4 separate regions of the Homo sapiens genome follow, and regions 2, 3 and 4 are each linked to region 1. The links are contacts of gene promoters, found by promoter capture Hi-C in blood cells and fetal thymus (Javierre and others, 2016). All regions are on one chromosome and are shown on one strand. Each heading gives the region's core, a stretch centred on a gene start or on the middle of the fragment in contact. The rest is flanking DNA. Distances are from core to core; before and after follow the strand shown. Region 1 holds the start of PLAAT1 (phospholipase A and acyltransferase 1). Region 2 overlaps MB21D2 (Mab-21 domain containing 2). Region 3 has its middle 17 kb from the start of ATP13A4. Region 4 overlaps MB21D2 (Mab-21 domain containing 2).

Region 1 (3,056 bases), core at 21-2,520:
ACTGAACCTTCTACCCAGAATGCCCATTTCCAAGTGCCCCAAATGACTCAATCTTAAAAAATCCAAGTCGATGCCACCTTCTCCCCCTCTCTCCTCCACTCCCCAGGTCGGATTGTCTTCCTCCGATCCGCCTTCTTTAGCTTCCACAGGCATCCATCTAATGGCCCATTCACTTCCTACACCTGCCTCAGCTACTGGTCTCTGGGAAATTGTCTCTTGTGGGGCATACGCTATGGAGGGATGCTTCTTGTTTTTCTCTATACCATGCGTCCGATCTTTTGGCTTCCCTGAGCCACACTGGGAGAACTGTCTTGGGCCACACATAAAATACACTAACTCTAATGATAGCTGATGAGAAAAAAAAAAAAAGCGCAAAAAAAAAACCTCTCATAATGTTTTAAGAACATTTACAAATTTGTGTTGGGCGGCATTCAAAGCTGTCCTGGGCCGCACGCGGTTAGTGAGCCACGGGTTGGACAAGCTTGCTCTATACCTTCAGTCTCCGGTGAGAGTGCCTCGCACAAGTAACTGCGGAGCAAATGTTCATTGAATGAAGGAATGAGGAATCCAAGCCCAGAGAAAACATGAGTGACTTTTTCCAGCACGAGTCATATTAATAGTCTCGCATGCCAAAGGAATATCACCATCCAACTTTCCAAAATCCAATACGATAATAATTACTTGTATTATTATTCATATTCACTTCAGTGAGGACAGTAGGCTTAAAAAGCCTTAAACAGGTTGGGTTTCTAGTCCCAGCTCTGCCACTTAATAGCTGTGTAACCTAGGGAAGAAAGTCTCTTGCCCTGTGGACTGAGTTCCCCAGTCTGTGAAAAAGAGGAGGGTGGATAAGCTCCGTTGTTCTCTAGTCATGTCAACTTTTCCCACTTGCCAGTTGGTTAGAACACGGTTGGTTGCCGGGGCGCCTCGAGGTCCTCCCCCACTCCGCCCAGCACACCTCACTCTCAAGCCGGGGTCTTCTTCTCGCACCGGGAGGCAGCTGTGTGTGTCCTGGGGTCTCTCTTGGCCTCGCAGCTGCCGACCTTGCCGCCGGCGGCCGCGGGACGACTCCATCTGTACCCGGGAGACACCCGGGAGGCAGGCGCCAGCCATCACTCGGGGCCGTCCTCCAGGGCCAACGCCAGCACCAGCGCCGCCACGCTGAAACGGTCCCGGCGGCCCCTCCGCGGCTCTGAGACGCCCGCACGCCGGGGGGCCGACGCGCTGGGCTCGGCGTCCGGGCGCTGCCGAGCCGGCACGAGGCTCTGACCATGGGGAGCCGCCCGCTCCGCCCAGGAGGCGGGGCACAGTCGCTCCGGCTAGACCTCGCTTGGCCCCGAGCCCAGCTTCGCCCGCCCGCCCGCCCGCCCGCCGGGGAACTGCACCTTCTCGCGCCCCGACGCAGCCGCCTCCGCGCGCGCACGCAACGCACGCGCTCCAGCGCCTACGGTCAAAGCGCCGCGCAACCAGTTATTCCGCCCCCGGCTCCGCACCCGCGTCTCGGACGTTCCCGCAGCCAACGTTTAGGGCACCAGGCGCTGTGCTAGGCGCCGCGGTTATAAAGATAATCGGTTTTGTTGAGCCCAGGAATGTTCGGGTACACCCATCATGAGTACACCCACTCTTCTAGCCTAACAAAAATTCCCTTAGGGCCCAAGGAATCATGGTACCTGCACCCCAAGAAAGCCTCTGGGTCTTTGAGTCAGCAAAGTGGCGGAGGAAGGACTGGCCCTAAAACAACCTCACTGCTTACACACACCACACCACACACACACACACGCCAGATAGCCAGCAGAGACCTCCAACCACACACACACACACACACACACACACACACGCCAGATAGCCAGCACAGACCTCCAGACCCCGCCCCGCCCCCCTCCCCCGGCCCCCCTCCGCCCCCACGCGCCAAATAGCCAGCAGAGACCTCCAGGATATGGCTGTGAGTTTAAAAATAAAGCTGGGGCAGGGAGAGTATCCTTTTTCTCACTGCTAAAAAAAGAGGCCAGGAATACTAACCTAGCTAAGTAAGGAACCCTTGAAGACTAAGTGAACTTTATGGAGCGCTGCACAGGACGTTGCTTCAACCTAGTCATAACTTAGATTTTTATTCTGATGTAAATGGAATCTCAGCTAAAAGGATTTTTTCCCACTTATTTGAAGGCTAAAAAATATCTCGCTAATTTTATGTATTTTGTCATAATGGGATAACAACTACCTAAATATGCAACTTTTTTCGTAAAGCTATTGGGTTGTGTTATGAAGGTTAAGGGTGAATCTGAGTGATCTGAAACTTTGGGTCTGGATTGGCACCTTTGGAAACAGTCCACAGAAGGACATTGAAAACGTAATTATTGACAAAGTGGAAACTAGAACACTTGAGAAGTTGTAGCTTTTTTTATGCATTAATATTTTCTTACATGTTCCTTAATATATATCCAGAGTTATAAGCTGAATCAGATATGCCTTTCAATACCCTTTTAATGTCTCAAAGAGAAAGCCATAAACATGCATTTGCTTTATGTTTCTCAACTATTTCGATGGAGTCATCACTGTAGGAAGTGGTTCATGATTTTATACAGGAGAGGTATTGTGAGCATTTATAAAGCCATCCTGCTTATGAGCCAAATTTATTATGTTTGCTAGGTTAATCTGTTTTCTCTAATCAAACACTTAATCATCCAGTCTCCTCTCTGCGTTATGGATTCATGAATGTGAAGTGAGGAGAGTTGCTCAGTCAAGGTAAAATGATAAATTATCTTTTCATTTTCAGGGTATTTGTGATTAAATGCTTCATAATAGAATTAAAATGAAATAAATCTTGTAATTTCACTTCTAGATTCCTGCCAGGTATAGATAAAACGCATTTGGTTAAGAACAAATTCAATTCAATGCCTGCGTGGAATTTATAGGAGAAATGTAGAAAGCGTTGTAGTTCAGGAGAGCCCTGAGTTCTCTCTTCATTTCTATGGATTGGAGAGAGAGTTGATCAATCGGTGGTACTCTACGGATGAGCAGTGGAAAATTAAAATTTCCATTAAGAAAGAATGAGGACT
Region 2 (3,450 bases), core at 632-3,131, 430 kb after region 1:
CTCTGGTGGTACCTGTTTAATGATGACAGATTTACTGTTTGCAGTGATGCTAGCTGTCATGATTGAGTCCTGTAAAAGATTATATTAAGCTAAAACTAACTGTAAAAATCAGTATATCTGTTTCTTTCCCTTCCTTTCTCTCACTTCTTTCCCTTCTTCCTTCCCTCCTTCCCTCCTTCCCTCTCTCCTATCTACCAGGTGCTTTGTGTTAACTTTTCATTCAGAGTGTTTTCTGTCCCTTACAAAGCTGACAGAGTTGTCAAGAGGTTTCACCCACTCAACCCACATTACTTGACACACAGTTACTTGCATTACAAAGCACTGCATGAGGAGCTCTTGGTAATAAAGGGGTGACTCAAACACAGATCCTCCCCTCCAGGGTCACGTCTGTGCTGTTGAATGTTGAACCACATGACTACATTACTAAATAAAAACTAAAATTAAAAGAAAAACAGGGAGGGAAGTGATAGAATAGATAGAAAAAGTATTGGAATATTTATTTTTAAAAGTCACATGCCCAAATAACAGGATAAAGACGAGTGTTATTCATTAACCTACAGAAGTGTGAACAGAATGTGATTTTAAAAATACAATTACATTTTCTCAGGATTGCAAAGTTCCAGAAACTCTGCTTGGAGCTTTATGTAACTGTTTCAATTAAGTGTCCCAAGAACCTTATGAGAAAGATGATATTACCCCCATTTTTTTTTTAATGGGGAAACTGAAGTTTCAGAAAGTCAAGTAACTTATCCAGATGCCACACAGCTAATAAATCATGAAGCTAAGGTCCACATTCAAGCGTGCCTGTATCCTAAATTAATAATCTTTCTATCACGGCATCCACATCATCCTTTCTGGCATCCTTCTTTTCTGTCTTCCTTGTTCACCTCAAAGCTGTGAATCTTACCAACGACGATGTGACATCCCATCGTGACAGTAGAATTGCTGCAAACAGCATGTGGGCATTTGAAATTCACCGGCAAGAAGCACTGTGTTCTCACTCACTTTGAAAGCATACCAGTAAAATCAGGTATTAATTTTAAAAATTTATGTTCAACCTCAGGCCTTACTTTTTGGGTTGCAGCCAGTCCAGCAACTAAAGAAAAATTAGGAAGGCATGACCTCTAGTGGAAAGACTGAAAACTTCATGTGATTTTACTGGAGAGTTTCTCCTCAAACCACCTCTTGTTAGACTGGAATTATGGAATTTTTCATCTGAAAGTTACTGTCATAACAAGACTTGGGTCTGTGTACAAAATGTCATTTTTGTCACTATCTTAAAAATGGGATTTTTGCATCTCACAATCGTAGCACACCTGAGTCCTTTAATAACCTTTCTCAAGTCGGAACCATCTTTTTTTTTAAAAAAAAAAATTGTCCTCTCGTCTTTTTGCCACTTCACTATAAAACCCAAACTGGACTTTTGGAAGGGACACAATATAAATACAGCTGTCTGCATTTAATCTGTCGTCGTCTCTCAATTCAACCCTGGGACAATTGATAGCTTTGGAAATTGTACACCTCTATTCAAACTGTGTGATCTTTGGTTTTGAGAACTGAGCTGTAATTGTGCCCATCACTGCAGGTTTATTGCTTGGCTGCCAAGTCAGCTCCACACTTGATACTCACTGACCCATATATGTGCTCCCAAGCCAAGTGTGGTATGGGCGCCAATTGTCCTTAAGGATTCGGCTGGTGATGCAATCACTTTATCTATGCTTGAGATTGAATAGAGGACAAAAATCCATCCCTATCTGATGGGTAGAGGAAGATACGGGCCCTGAAAAAATAGCAGAAATCTAGCACAAATACATCATTTTCTTTCAAACTAAATGAATACCTGGGTGGTTAGAGATGAATGAATTCCCCAATTGTACAGAATGAGACCTGTCACATCCCTCCTGAATCTCAATTACTATCATGTTTCCAAAAGCCCGCCAAAGTTGTCTTCCCTGATTTGAAAAGTAGCCAATCTCAGCTCTTCAAGATCTTAGAGAATTACTGAGACAGTAAATTCCTTCCTCTAACTTGACAGCTTTGCCTTTCCTGATTTCATGCAGTTAAACTTTCTGCTTTGAAATTGAGAGAGAGGCAGACTCAATTTTTAAAAGCATTTCAACATTGCTAAACACATGTCTCCTTGGAGATTATGCTTCCATCCTTGTGGGGTGAGACATGGGAACCTGCATTTTTAACAAGCCTCTCGGTTTGAGACCCACATATGAAGCAGGGAGTTCTGGATTGAGAGTCAAGTACTTTGGGTTCTATTTCTGGCACCTGTGCCAGGTTCAGTGCTGTGTCACCTTTGCTTTCTGGGCCTTAGCAACCTCATACATACCATGGCAGTTGGAATAAATAACCTTGAAAGTCAGTTCTGGCTCCAGTAAGCTCCAATTTATTCATTCTTTGTGTGGGGAACACATATATAACTTAAACTTCATTCTCTGGAGACCAAGACTTAGCGAATTTTAACTTATTCAAACAACATCCTTTAATACTATGAAATTAAAGAAACTCTTATTTCTCCCTTAGTAGCCATCATTTGGTTAATAATTTCTGGCTAGAATGTTTGAATGCCACACTGTTCATCCACTGACTTGCTCCATTTTTAGATGGTTGGGGGAAAGTAGATGAAAGAAGCCATCTCTCAAAGTATGACTTTCCCATGTCAGCATTATGAGACTCATCTTTGACTTTGTCTAAGAATTTTTTTTTTTTTTTTGGGATGGAGTCTCGCTCTGTCGCCCAGGCTGGAATGCAGTGGCACAATCTCAGCTCACTGCAAGCTCCACCTCCTGGGTTCACGCCATTCTCCTGCCTCAGCCTCCCCAGTAGCTGGGACTAAAGGCGTCCACCACCACGCCTGGGTAATTTTTTGTATTTTTTTTAGTAGAGACAGGGTTTCACCGTGTTAGCCAGGATGGTCTCGATCTCCTGACCTCGTGATCTGCCCACCTTGGCCTCCCAAAGTGCTGGGATTACAGGTGTGAGCCACCGCGCCCGCCCAAGACTTTTTTTAATTGAGCAGGCATGGATTTAAAAACACTGCAGCTTTGTCCTCTTTTAAATGATCTACCCGTGCTTTTAAACTGCAAATTTCTACTTCTGCAGAGGGCTTTGGCTGGTTATTTCAAGTCTGATTTCTTTTGATCCGAACATTTTCAAGCTCAAACAATAGAGTATGTTTTTACCCAGATACTGAAAACAGTTATCAGGTAGGCAATTCTGTCTCAGCAGATTCAGCTCTTTATTAGTCTGTTAGCCTGTCAGTATTTTTTTTTTCATGTCTGTTGTCCTTGGAAAAACTCATTTGATCCCTTAGTCCTTTCTTAAATTACAGGGATGGGTGTAGCTGTACTAATCTGAACTTCTGGATGTATCAAACATTCCAACTTTATACGATGGAAATACTTCTAAGACTTATTAACATATCATTATTTTTCAAACTAG
Region 3 (3,206 bases), core at 662-3,161, 330 kb before region 1:
GGGATGGGAACCTCGAGTGGAGAAAAACTATACTGTGATTCCTGGGGAAACCTGAGAAGGCAGGGAAGGAGGTTCACAGAGGAGCCCCTCATGCCAGCCTGTTGCAGCGGCAGTGAGAAGAAATGGGCAAGGCCACACTCCCAATTGCCTGTGGCCCAGGAGCCTTGGGAAGGTGCTCCAGAGAGTCATTTGTCACCAGATGGTGAAGGGCTGAGATAAGGCTGAGATAAAAGTCCTGGTGGGACCACAGATGTGTGTCTCAGATGCTGCTAGCATAGTAGATACAAATTATATATATATATATATATGTATATATATATATATGTGTATATATATATATGTATATATATATATATGGCTGTGGTATTCGTTAAAGTTCATCTGTGGTATTCCTTAAAGTTTTATATATTAATCTGTGGTATTTCTTAAAGTTTTGGTCACACTGTTTAGAGTTTTGCTAAACATTATATCATGAACATTTAAACCATGTCGGTGATCTCGGCTCACTGCAAGCTCCACCTCCCAGACTCAAACCATCCTCCCACCTCAGCCCTTACTCCCCTCCCCCCAACCCCTGCCCCCCACCCCGAGTAACTGGGACCACAGGTGTGCACACCATGCCCAGCTAATTTTTGTAATTTTTTTTTTTTTTGTAAAGAAGGTGTTTCACCATATTGCGCAGGTTGGTCTCGAACTCCTGAGCTCAAGTGATCTGCCCAGTTCAGCCTCCCAAAGTGCTAGAATTACAGGCGTGAGTCACACTGCACCTGGCCTATACACATTTGTAAGGCTTCCTATTCACATGTCAAACTGCCCTCCTGCCCTTTACATTCCCATCAGCTGGTTCCATCACGTGCATGTACTAACGTCTTCAGGGACCACTCAGCGGTGCATAGTTTCTGGGTATATGAACAAACTGGAGTACGATTCTAGTAGATCAGAGGCTCTGAGAATGTCTCCACTCTTGTCCAGACCTTGAAACATCAAGTGACTGAAGCTTGCAGGCTGTCCTTTGCCACTAAACGCAGATTGAATGTTAAGACACTAGGGGGCAGAGGCGTCCCACTAAACCGAGGATGTTCTGTTCGTTTTTTAAACCTAAACTGGTTCATACCATCCATCTAGATCCAAATTCGCACATTGCTATCATGGAGTATTCAATTATTTTAACAAATTAATAAACAAAGGCAAGACTGCTGTAAGTTTAAAATAGGTAGTTCTCAATTACTGTAACAAACATTCTATTCCCACTGCTTTTTTAAAACCTGAACTTTTTATATTACAATAGTTTTAGAGTTACAGAAAAATTATGAAGATAGGATAGAGAGTTCCCATATACCCCAAACAAAGTCAGTTTCCCCTATTTTTTTAGACAGGGTCTTATTGTGTCCCCCAGATTGGAGTGCAGTGGCATGATCTCGGCTCACTGCAACCTCTGCCTCTGGAGCTCAGGCAATCCTCCCACTTTAGCCTCCCGAGTAGCTGGGACTACAGGCATGTGTTGCCTGGCTATTATTATTATTTTGTATGTTTTGTAGAGGCGGGGTTTTGCCATGTTGCTGAGGCTGGTCTTGAACTCCTGGCCCAAGCCATCTGCCTGCTTGGGCGGCTTCCTGTTTTGTTAACATCTTACATTAGTATGGTGCATTTATTACAACAAGTAAACCAAGACTGATGTGTTAGTATTAACTAAAGTCTAAAGTCCATAACTCAGTTTTCTTTAGTTTTACCTAACGTCCTTTTTATTATTATTATTATTTTATTTCACAGGCCTAATGTCCTTTTCATGTACCAGGATTCCATTCAAGATACCACATTAGATTGATGCGTTATGTCTCCTTAGGCTCACCTAGACCATGACATTTCCTCAGATTCTCCTTGTTTGTGCCGACCTTGACAGCTTTGAGGGGTATTACGTGTTTTATAAAATGCCCTTCAATTGGGGTTTGTCTGATGTTTTTCTCATGGATAGACAGGAGTTGTAGGTTTTTGGGAGGAAGACTGTAAGAGGTAAAGTGCCATGCTTATCACACCATGTTGTCAGCATGACATATCAATTTTGAAATTAACCTTCATCACCTGACTGAGCAATATTTGGTAGGTTTCTCCACTGTAAAGTTACTTCCTCCTCACCCCTCATACTGTACACTGTGGAAGGAAGTCACTACCAGCAGCCAATGTTAAGGAGTGAATAGTTATGTAGCCCTTTCTGAGGAGCCCTGTGTGCATAAGTTATCTGGAATTCTGTACGGAAGATTTATCTATTCTCCCCATTTATTTATTCAATTGTTTATTTGTATCTCTCTTTGAACTCATGGATATTTCTTTTTTTTTTTTTGAGACAAGGTCTTGCTTTGTCACCCAGGCTGGAGTGCAGTAACGCAATCTCGGCTCACTGGCAACCTCCACCTCCCAGGTTCAAACAATTCTCCTGCCTCAGCCTCTTGAATAGGTGGGATCACAGGCCCACGCCACCATGCCCGGCTAATTTTTGTATTTTTAGTAGAGACGGGGTTTTGCCATGTTGGCCAGGCTGGTTTCGAACTCCTGACCTCAGTTGACCCACCCGCCTTGGCTTCCCAAAGTGCTGGGATTACAGGCATGAGCTACCACACCTGGCCAGATACTTATTTTCTACTTTGCTTTTACAACCATGTCTGGCCAAATTTTACACCCCTTTAATAATAATAATAGCTACCAATTATTGGGAATTTATATATACACTGTGCTAAGCATTGTATATATGTCATCTCATTTAATATTAGCAACCATCCTCATGGGAGATATTATTATCCTTTGGTCCCATATGATGAGCCTGAAGCTTGTAGAGATAAATAATTTCCCCTGACCACACAACTGGTACACAGGATGCAAGCTCTGGTCTGTGAGAATTCAGAGCCTGTGGGTTTCACCGCTATGACACTGCCTCCCTGCTTTACTCAAGAATAGGATATGCTAAGAGGCTGAGTTTAATTGTATGAGGAAAAAATAAAGATAAAGACTGTGGTGGTATTAGGCCTCTATTCCAGTCCTTTATCCTTCCCTTCTGTTCACTGTCACCCTGATAGTTTCCCCTTCTGATTTGTCAATGATAAAATAAAAAATTCAATAAAAATGCATTGAGATTTTGCTAGTATATAATTTATAATTAGCATGTCATACATGGTTCTAATGATAAATAATTAAGAAATAAAATACTTTTCCTG
Region 4 (3,294 bases), core at 645-3,144, 440 kb after region 1:
AGTACAATGGCAACACAGTAAAAAAGTCAGACAAGACTGGGCGTGGTAGCTCATGCCTGTAATCCCAGCACTTGGGGGAAGCCGAGGTAGGAGAATTGCTTGAGGCCAGGAATTTTAGACCAGCCTGGGCAACATAGCAAGACCCTGTCTCTTAAAAAAAAAGTCAAACAGTGTGTTAGTATTATTATAAAGAGAGTTATGAACTCATTACCCCTGAAAGTGTCTCCAGCCCACACTGAGAACCGCTGGTACAAAGAAGAGTGTAAGCGCAAAGAGCCTGGGGAAAGAAAACCGCTTAGGCAATAGATAAAAAAGGCCGAACTTCATATGATGGCAGGAGAGATGGAGAACAGGGAAGGAAGTGAGAAACCCTGGCAGAGGTTCCATGGAAAAGATTTGGCAGTAGAAGGGCAGCAAAGAGTTGAAATGTACTGAGGTTTTCAGTCTGCATAACTGAGTGGATGGCAATTCCATTAACTGAGATGATGACTGGGGGAAGAGGGGCCCTGTTTTATTATTGAAAACGATACTGCTTTTCACACTGAGAGAGAAAAATCTATCATAATTCTTGCATTTGGAAAAGGGTGGATTCTAGCACTAGTGAGAAAGTACTGTTGGCCAGGTCTCTGCAGCAGCCTGAGATTTGATTTAGTACTGATAATGAGTTTTGGTTCTTGGAACATCAGAGCATTCTGTTTCATGCATAAGACTCTTATGTCTGTGTTTCCTGTAATAGTGTTGTTTTTTTCTTCTTTATTTCCAGGAATGGTGCAAAAGCTGGACCAAAAGCTTCCAGTGGCTAATGAATACCTGTTGCTCTCTGGAGGTGTCCGGGAAGGCGTGGTGGACCTGGACTTAGATGAGCTTAATGTCTATGCCCGGGGTACTGACTATGATATGGACTTTACCCTCTTGGTGCCAGCCCTCAAGCTGCATGACCGTAATCAGCCTGTGACACTCGACATGCGCCACTCAGCCTTGTGCCACTCTTGGCTGAGCCTTCGGCTCTTTGATGAGGGGACAATCAGTAAATGGAAAGACTGCTGCACCATTGTAGATCACATCAATGGTGCCACCAACTACTTCTTCTCACCTACCAAAGTGGCTGACTGGTTCTATGACTCTATCAGCATTGTCCTATCAGAAATACAGAAGAAACCCCAGCGAGGGATGCCAAAGGTAGAAAAGGTGGAAAAAAATGGGACCATCATCTCCATCATTCTGGGTGTAGGGAGTAGTCGCATGTTGTATGATATTGTCCCTGTGGTATCTTTCAAAGGTTGGCCTGCAGTGGCCCAGAGCTGGCTCATGGAGAACCACTTTTGGGATGGGAAGATTACTGAGGAAGAGGTCATCAGTGGGTTTTACTTGGTGCCTGCTTGCTCCTACAAGGGTAAGAAGGACAATGAATGGCGGCTGTCCTTTGCCAGGAGCGAGGTGCAGTTGAAGAAGTGCATCTCCAGCAGCCTCATGCAGGCCTATCAGGCCTGCAAAGCCATCATCATTAAACTGCTGTCCCGGCCCAAGGCTATTAGCCCCTATCACCTGCGGAGCATGATGCTCTGGGCCTGCGACAGACTTCCTGCCAACTACTTGGCTCAAGAAGACTATGCAGCCCACTTTTTGCTGGGCCTCATCGATGACCTGCAACACTGTCTGGTCAACAAGATGTGCCCCAATTATTTCATCCCTCAGTGCAACATGCTGGAACATCTGTCTGAGGAGACAGTCATGCTTCACGCCCGGAAGCTGTCCTCTGTGCGCTCAGACCCGGCAGAGCACTTGCGCACCGCCATTGAGCATGTCAAGGCAGCCAACCGGCTGACACTGGAGCTCCAGAGGCGAGGTAGCACCACCAGCATCCCCTCTCCACAGTCTGACGGAGGGGACCCCAACCAGCCTGATGACCGTTTGGCAAAAAAACTGCAGCAGCTAGTGACTGAGAACCCGGGAAAGTCAATCTCTGTCTTTATCAATCCTGACGATGTCACAAGGCCCCATTTCAGAATTGATGACAAATTTTTCTGAGTGTTAGCTGACTTTTTTTTTTCCTGATTCTTAAACTCTGATAATGTGTCGTGTGGTTTGTGATGCTATCTTTCTGTTTTTTACATATCCAGCCTAGATTGGATTTGTTAAGAACAAATTTTAAGTTTCCTGGTTCTGCAGGATGGTGCAGGCTCTGAAACAGTATATTACTATTTCATATTCTGCCTCTGATTTCGTTGTTTACTTTTTGTAGTTATTGTCATGCTCTTTAGTTTGTTGGAGTTTTTTTTCTTTTTAAGGAGATCTTAAGCCATAGATGAAAATGCCCATGAATCCTCTTGCTTTTTTCTGTTTCATACTTGGTGCAAATTTGTTCATGGGTATGGGGAAACAAATCTCTTTCTGATGCTTAACGATTCTATCCTATTATTTTTATTATTTTGTTTTTGTCTTTTTTCTTATGAGCTTTCACCACTACTGATATTTGAGAATCATATGAACCTGGGAACTACTTGGCATGTTAGCTGGATTTATTTATTTTGGCCAGTGACCAGAGTAGTTTCCCCCCTTTTCCACCAAACAATGTAAACTTTGAAAGTGATAATACTACAAATTGTGTTTTGGAGCAACTTCATTGAATGTAATTGTCCTCAAATCAGAGAACACTGGGTGGTTTGAAGGGTGTCTTTGACAGTTTTCCAAGCAGAATTAAGGTTTCCAAATGTTAATTTTAGCATATGTAATTATTTGAAGCCTTATTTAAATCCTATTAAAGAACATACCATTATAATTATTATTTGCACTAATCTTTGCCATTGTCAGAATTGCAAAGTGTGTTTCAATATAAATTAACAACCACTCTCGAAATTCTATCATTTTTTCATTTTGCCCATTTCTATCAGTGAAATGATTCTTTGCATTTGCTTAGTTCTCCTTCAGTTGTGGGGTCCTGCTTTGCCCTCTTTGATATTCCTGGTTCCTGTCTTACTGAGAGAAGTTGTTAAAGCTTTATACATGTTGACCCCATCTAAAGCTGGGGAAAATATACACTTGATGAAGTAGGTGTCTTTGTATTTATTTCTTTTGGGGTCATAGAGGTAAGCTTTTTTGTAAAATCTCTACTCTTCCTGAGAGTTTTGAGAAAAACTGGCAGGAAGAACTTATAATCCCCAAATAGAAGATACCACGTCTGTTCAAAAGCAGGTATTGCTATAGAGCAGCACCCAGGAAATATCTGTGGGTGGCAGCCTTGGTATAGAGGTGTCCTGTCTTCATGAGTGAAGTTACTTGCCTGATTAGGTGCTG

What was found. The method cuts DNA at HindIII sites, captures the fragments that hold promoters and counts their contacts. A CHiCAGO score of 5 or more calls a contact.
Region 2: a contact is called between a fragment that was not itself captured here and the fragment with the promoter of PLAAT1 in region 1, in 2 of 17 cell types (M1 macrophages and endothelial precursors). The highest score is 7.8, in M1 macrophages.
Region 3: a fragment that was not itself captured here is called in contact with the fragment with the promoter of PLAAT1 in region 1 in 1 of 17 cell types (megakaryocytes); the score reaches 6.3 in megakaryocytes.
Region 4: a contact is called between a fragment that was not itself captured here and the fragment with the promoter of PLAAT1 in region 1, in 1 of 17 cell types (M1 macrophages). The highest score is 5.2, in M1 macrophages.

The regions. Positions count from the first base shown.
Region 1 is chr3:193,239,436-193,242,491 of GRCh38, reverse strand. PLAAT1 (phospholipase A and acyltransferase 1) reads right to left here and starts at 1,270. Exons shown (of 4, transcript NM_020386.5): 1 at 959-1,270. It overlaps MGC2889 (a long non-coding RNA gene), which reads right to left and starts at 713. Exons shown (of 1, transcript NR_026877.1): 1 at 1-713. It overlaps LOC105374280 (a long non-coding RNA gene), which reads left to right and starts at 1,469. Exons shown (of 3, transcript XR_924833.3): 1 at 1,469-1,597; 2 at 2,647-2,742. RefSeq lists a silencer at 1,119-1,368. The HindIII fragment of the contact is 3,333 bases long and covers 484-3,056 here.
Region 2 is chr3:192,814,137-192,817,586 of GRCh38, reverse strand. The region is part of intron 1 of MB21D2 (Mab-21 domain containing 2); the gene reads left to right. Among named protein-coding and RNA genes, the nearest start is that of FGF12, 88 kb to the right of the region's middle. The HindIII fragment of the contact is 4,756 bases long and covers 1-3,450 here.
Region 3 is chr3:193,570,411-193,573,616 of GRCh38, reverse strand. It overlaps a transcript of ATP13A4 not described here. Among named protein-coding and RNA genes, the nearest start is that of ATP13A4, 17 kb to the right of the region's middle. The HindIII fragment of the contact is 1,824 bases long and covers 1,000-2,823 here.
Region 4 is chr3:192,797,120-192,800,413 of GRCh38, reverse strand. MB21D2 (Mab-21 domain containing 2) reads left to right here. Exons shown (of 2, transcript NM_178496.4): 2 at 764-3,294. The coding sequence ends at 2,028. Among named protein-coding and RNA genes, the nearest start is that of FGF12, 71 kb to the right of the region's middle. The HindIII fragment of the contact is 2,206 bases long and covers 792-2,997 here.